2 separate regions of the Homo sapiens genome follow, and region 1 is linked to region 2. Evidence: promoter capture Hi-C in human tissues and cell types (Jung and others, 2019). All regions are on one chromosome and are shown on one strand. The core of a region is centred on a gene start or on the middle of the fragment in contact, and the rest is flanking DNA. Distances in the headings are between cores, read along the strand shown. Region 1 overlaps SMAP2 (small ArfGAP2). Region 2 holds the start of COL9A2 (collagen type IX alpha 2 chain).

The links. The method cuts DNA at HindIII sites, captures the fragments that hold promoters and counts their contacts. A contact is called where the count stands out against the background at its distance.
Region 1: a fragment that was not itself captured here is called in contact with the fragment with the promoter of COL9A2 in region 2 in 2 of the 25 tissues and cell types used here (H1 embryonic stem cells and mesenchymal stem cells).

Annotation. Positions count from the first base shown.
Region 1 is chr1:40,385,585-40,388,284 of GRCh38, reverse strand. All of the region lies in intron 1 of SMAP2 (small ArfGAP2), which reads right to left. Among named protein-coding and RNA genes, the nearest start is that of SMAP2, 13 kb to the right of the region's middle. RefSeq lists an enhancer at 2,271-2,540. The HindIII fragment of the contact is 3,706 bases long and covers 1-2,700 here.
Region 2 is chr1:40,315,921-40,318,620 of GRCh38, reverse strand. It overlaps COL9A2 (collagen type IX alpha 2 chain), which reads left to right and starts at 1,335. Exons shown (of 32, transcript NM_001852.4): 1 at 1,335-1,498. The coding sequence starts at 1,424. RefSeq lists enhancers at 1,204-1,840, 1,841-2,477 and a silencer at 1,651-2,160. The HindIII fragment of the contact is 32,999 bases long and covers 1-2,700 here.

The sequences.
Region 1 (2,700 bases), core at 146-2,645, 70 kb before region 2:
CGCACTGGGGCTGCAGGTGGAGCTGCCCGCCAGTCCCGCGCTGTGCGCCCACACACCTCAGCCCTTGGGTGGTTGATGGGACCGGGTGCCGTGGAGCAGGGGGCGGTCTCGTTGGGGAGGCTCAGGCTGCACAGGAGCCCACAGAGGTGGGGGGAGGCTCAGGCATGGCGGGCTGCAGGTCCCGAGCCCTGCCCCGTGGGAAGGCAGCTAAGGCCCGGTGAGAAATCCAGCGCAGCGCCGGTGGGCCGGCACTGCTGGGGGACCCAGCACACCCTCTGCAGCCGCTGGCCCAGGTGCTAAGCCCCTCATTGCCCAGGGCCAGCAGGGCTGGCCGGCTGCTCCAAGTGCGGGGCCCGCCAAGCCCATGCCCACCCGGAACTCCAGCTGGCCCACAAGTGCGGCACACAGCCCCGGTTCCCGGAGCTGGCTCCCTCCACACCTCCCCGCAAGCCGAGGGAGCCAGCTCCGGCCTCGGCCAGCCCAGGAAGGGGCTCCCACAGTGCAGCAGTGGGCTGAAGGGCTCCTCAAGTGCGGCCAGAGTGGGTGCCAAGGCCGAGGAGGCACCGAGAGCGAGCGAGGGCTGTGAGGGCTGCCAGCACGCTGTCACCTCTCAATGTGAAAGTGCCGGCCCATCTTGCTGTGGTATGACCCATAAAGCTGTTCCTTATGTCCCTTATGTTCCTTAGGTCCCTTATGGGGAAACCAGGGTTCTCCCGAATTCCCCATTCCTTGCCTCAGCAGACATCTACTGCAATGAAGCAGTTCAGAATGATAATGCCCATAGCAAAGCCATCTCTACGTGGGCTCAACCCAGAGAATCCCCTTGGTAACTTTTTAAATTAGAGGGCCCACTTGACTACTCAAATCTGAACACATAAATAACCCATCACTCTAACAACAACACAAAAATTTATACTTCCTTATTTGTATTGTTAAAAAATTGAAAATTCAAATATTAACAATTGGGCAAGAGATAATAATGACATATTCCAATGCTGGGATACAATAAAGGTATTTACACGTTTTTAATGTCATGAAATAAGCTTATAATAAATGTTAAGCAAAAAAGAATGATATAAAATCATTATGGTATAAGCTCAAGTAAATGGGTGATAAGAATTATGAAAAATAAGGCCGGGCATGGTGGTTGATGCCTGTAATCCTGGCACTCCGGCAGGCCGAGGCAGGCAGATGATGTGAGCTCAGGAGTTCGAGACTAGCCTGGGCAACATGGCAAAACCCTGTCTGTACTAAAAATACAAAAATTAGCTGGACGTGGTGGTGTGCACCTGTAGTCCCAGCTACTATGAAGGCTGAGACAGAAGAACTGCTTAAGCCTGATAGAGGCTGCAGTGAGCTGAGATCGTGCCACTGTACTCCAGCTTGGGCGACGGAGCGAGAGACCTTGTCTCCAAAAAAAAAAAAAAAAAAGAATTATGAAAAATACCTTCAGCATCATTATATTTTTCATACTTTCCAATGATTTTTATCGTGGATAGGTTTCAGAATCATAAAAGATAAAGTTGTTGTTGTTTTAAAAAAAACCAGCATTTACTGATGTTTAGATTATAAGCACAGGGATCCTCCTATCTCCCCAGCTCCTAAAATCCCACAAGACAGAAAACAACTGGTCTGTTCCTATGGCAACAAATCTTTTTTTCCTTAAATGTATGAGAAGTCTAATGAAACTGGGACCTATTTTTACTCTGCCCGTAATATGGACCCTTGATCTGAGCCACTTGTGTCAGGCTACTTCTGTCGAGACTAGGCTCAGAACAAGTTAGAATGCTCAGGGAGCCAAGCCGGAGTCTTCCTGATTCCAATGTTTCATTTAATGAAGCTTCCTTTCTCTTTCATATAATCTGGGAATGTTAATACTGTAGTCACACTACAGGAAAGACCTTTCCTCAAGTTTCTCCTCCATCTGTAACGGTTCCTCTAACCGAACTCTTCATGCCTACTTTCAGAGAGACAAAGTCAATCCCTGTTCCAAACAGCTAATCTTTCAGTAAAAATGATTTCAACATAGCAGAAGAGCCTGAATCTCTTAATTCATTCTTTCTCAAATCAGCTGTCACACTCAAATTGGTTTCCGTCAGCTCTGCTGTTTTCAGCTATTTTGAACAAAAGCATCATGGTAAGAACAGGGAGTTTCCTTCCTGTTTCTCTTCTCAGGGTTTGTGTCAGTTATAAGGAGTGATAAAGTGTCAACAACAACAAAAAGACACCAATGCCCCCTTCTCTACAAGCTTTACACTACAGCATATGATGTCACCAGTTCACACAGAAAATTCTGTAAGAAATTATTTTTGAAGGCACAGAACAAAAACAACCACCTAAACAATATCAAGACAAAACTTCCTTAACTCAAAACTAGAAACACTAGAGAACTCATTTCTAAATCCACACATTTGGGGACTTCCAGTTAGACAAGAAAAGAGGAAGTTAAAGAACAAAATGTACTGTGTGCGCACTTCAGACCACTGAGGTGAAATAACATTGTAGGATTAACATGTAAACCCACATCTAAAGATGTAAGCTCTGTGGTAGAGGCCTGGGGATTTATGGTATTCCGTCACCAGCAACTGCTGCAAAAGACAGCATGGCTATTTGAAGAAAAGGAAAAGAAAAGGTGCTCTATTTGCTCAAATCACCATGCTAGGACACACTTATCAGCTACAGCTGAGAGTAGGTCTCTCT
Region 2 (2,700 bases), core at 86-2,585:
ACCCTTTAAGATAAGGACAATTTGCTGGGCACGGTGGCTCATGCCTGTAATCCCAACACTTTGGGAGGCTGAGGCAGGCAGATCACCTGAAGTCAGGAGTTCAAGAGCAGTCTGGCCAACATGGCGAAACCCCATCTCTACTAAAAATATAAAAATTAGCCAGGCATTGTGGCTCATGCCTGTAATTCCAGCTACTCGAGAGGCTGAGGCAGGGGAATCATTTGAACCCGCGAGGCGAGGTTGCAGTTAGCTGACATCGTGCCACTGCACTCCAGAGCCTTTTAAGACTCTGTCTTAAAAAAAAAATATATATATATATATATATGGACTATTAGTATCCCCATTTTACAGATGAGGAAAATGAGACTTCATAGAGTTTGGGGTGCCTGTGGTCATATCTATAATTGTGAAAAAGTCAGATTCCAAAGCATTTTACCAATATTGCCTAAGTGAGTGGGAGGGAAGGGAAGGCTCTCTGGAGTCGGGCTATGCTGGACAGCGGGGTTCGGAAACTCTGGTGAATAAAGTGGTAGTTGTTTCTATGAACATGGAGTGAGAAGGCCCAATCCTAAACACACCAGTGCTTAAGGCAGCTGCAGAGAATTAAAGGCAATAGAAAAAGGGGAGCTGGATGGCAGGAGCTTGGATGGGGAAGACTTCAAGGGCAGGTGAAGATGCCAACAGCTTCCTGCCTGGAGGACCGAAGAAGGGTTGGGCTTCACTGCAGACCTCCAGGAGACAGATTTGCTTGTTGGGACAGAGTAGGGAGGTGAAAGCGAGGTGAGGAAGTTCGGGGGTGGGGGAGGTGCACACAGCTCCACTAAAGAGCTGGAAGAGGCCGATGGAGTATTCATGAGACGGCTGATCCAGGAAGGACTGTGGCATATTAATATGGAAAAGGCCTGTTTGTTTGTGCTTGGAGAGGAAGGAGCCAGAGGAGAGGGGAGCAAGGTGGGCGGGAGCTGGGGAGAGCCTGCAGCAAGATCTGCAGAGCCCGAGGTGCTCTCGGCCTGGGCCCTGGAGAGGACGTAGGGTAAGTGATGGGGCACAGGCTGTGCGTCAGGGGGAAGGTGCTGGGGCCTGAAGGTCCCGAGGGGAACCTCAGACGGCCTTATGCCTTCTCACAAAGAAACTGGACCATCATCTCCGACCCGCACCCCGGTCGCCCCTCGAGGACAGAGGGTGGGCGCAGGAGGCTGGACCGAGCGGGGCGGAGCTGGATGCCTGGCGCCGGCCTCCCTCCCGGCAACCCCGCCGGTCCTCTCAGGTGACAGCTCACGCCGGCCCCCGCCCCGCCCCCCGCATATTCAGGAGCCCCAGCCCACCCTGCCCGCGAACAGCCAGCGCTGGAGGAGCGCCGGGAGACTCTGCCGTCGGTGCGTGCGCGGACACGCACCCGTCCCCCTTGGTCTCGCCGCCAGCCATGGCCGCCGCTACGGCCTCCCCCCGCAGCCTCCTTGTTCTCCTCCAGGTGGTAGTGCTCGCTCTGGCGCAGATTGTAAGTTTCGCAGCCCCTCCGCTGCCAGGGTCCAGGGTGCGGGGTCTGGAGTCCGGGATGGAGGAGCTCTGCCTGTGTCCCGCGCCTACTGACACCCCTAGCCCGAGAGGCCACCTGAGGACAGCGCCGCGGGCAGGTCCCCTCGGTGGGTGCATACATGGTGCCCATCGCGGCACCGTGAATGGAGGTGGCTGAGCCGGAGAGTCAAACGGGACCCGTCCCCAGACGCGCGGCCCGGCCCGGGACAGGCAGCGTGGGGCAGGAGCTGGCGCCCGGTCCTGGCAGCCCGGGGAGCCCAGGTGGCGGGGCATACAATGGTGCTCATTCACCCGCTGCGCAGCCTCCGCCCCCGCCGCCTCCCAGGGGGCGCCGGCTCCAACCAGACGCCGCTGTCGCCCCGAGGCGGCCTCTCGGCCCTGCCCGCCTACCCACGTCTCCCTTCCGAGGGCCGCCGGGGGCTGCGGGCGCGCGGGTAGGGCAGAGACTGGGCCCGGTCGGGTGCTGGGTGTGGTTTCGAGCTCGCCTGCGGGGCGCCAGCCTGGCACTTCGCGGCCTGGGGAGGTCGTGGGCACCGGGACCCCTGCCTGGGTCCGAGCTGGCCTCTTAAAAGGGCCGCCTTTTAAGATCTCTGATCTGTTCAGAGATGGGCAGCAGGATGGAGACTCTCCAGCTGTGAGCTCGCCTCATCTTGATATGACTTGTGACCTCCCTGAAACCTCACACCCACCCAGGGGCATTGAATTGCAGGCAAACGGGATCCAGAGAGAGGGTCTGCTTTCTGGGAGGTGCCGGCTCCTCCTGCTCCCCTGCAGCAGTCAGGGCTTAGCAGAGGGAGGACCGGGCAGCTGTGCTGCCGAAGGGGCGCTCCGAGTGGGAAGATAGTACCCGCTTCACCTCCCTACACCTCCTTTCTCTGCGCCTCCCCCACTTTCCCGTCGGGTTTTCCCGCACCATGGGGAGAGGAGGAGGCGCTGTCTCTGCCTGTCGTTCACGTAAGAACAACAACCCGAGCCACCGCTCACTGAGGGCCGGCAGCCTGCTAGGCACAACCTTACATTCCATCTGTGATTTATTTGAGCTGTCCACGTCTCCATCTATTCCCCACCGCGACCGCGCAAGGGCAAACTGGCACAGTGGAAGGAGTCGGGCAGATCCAGGGCGGACTCCTGGCGCCGCCGCCCACTCTCAGTGACCATGGACCC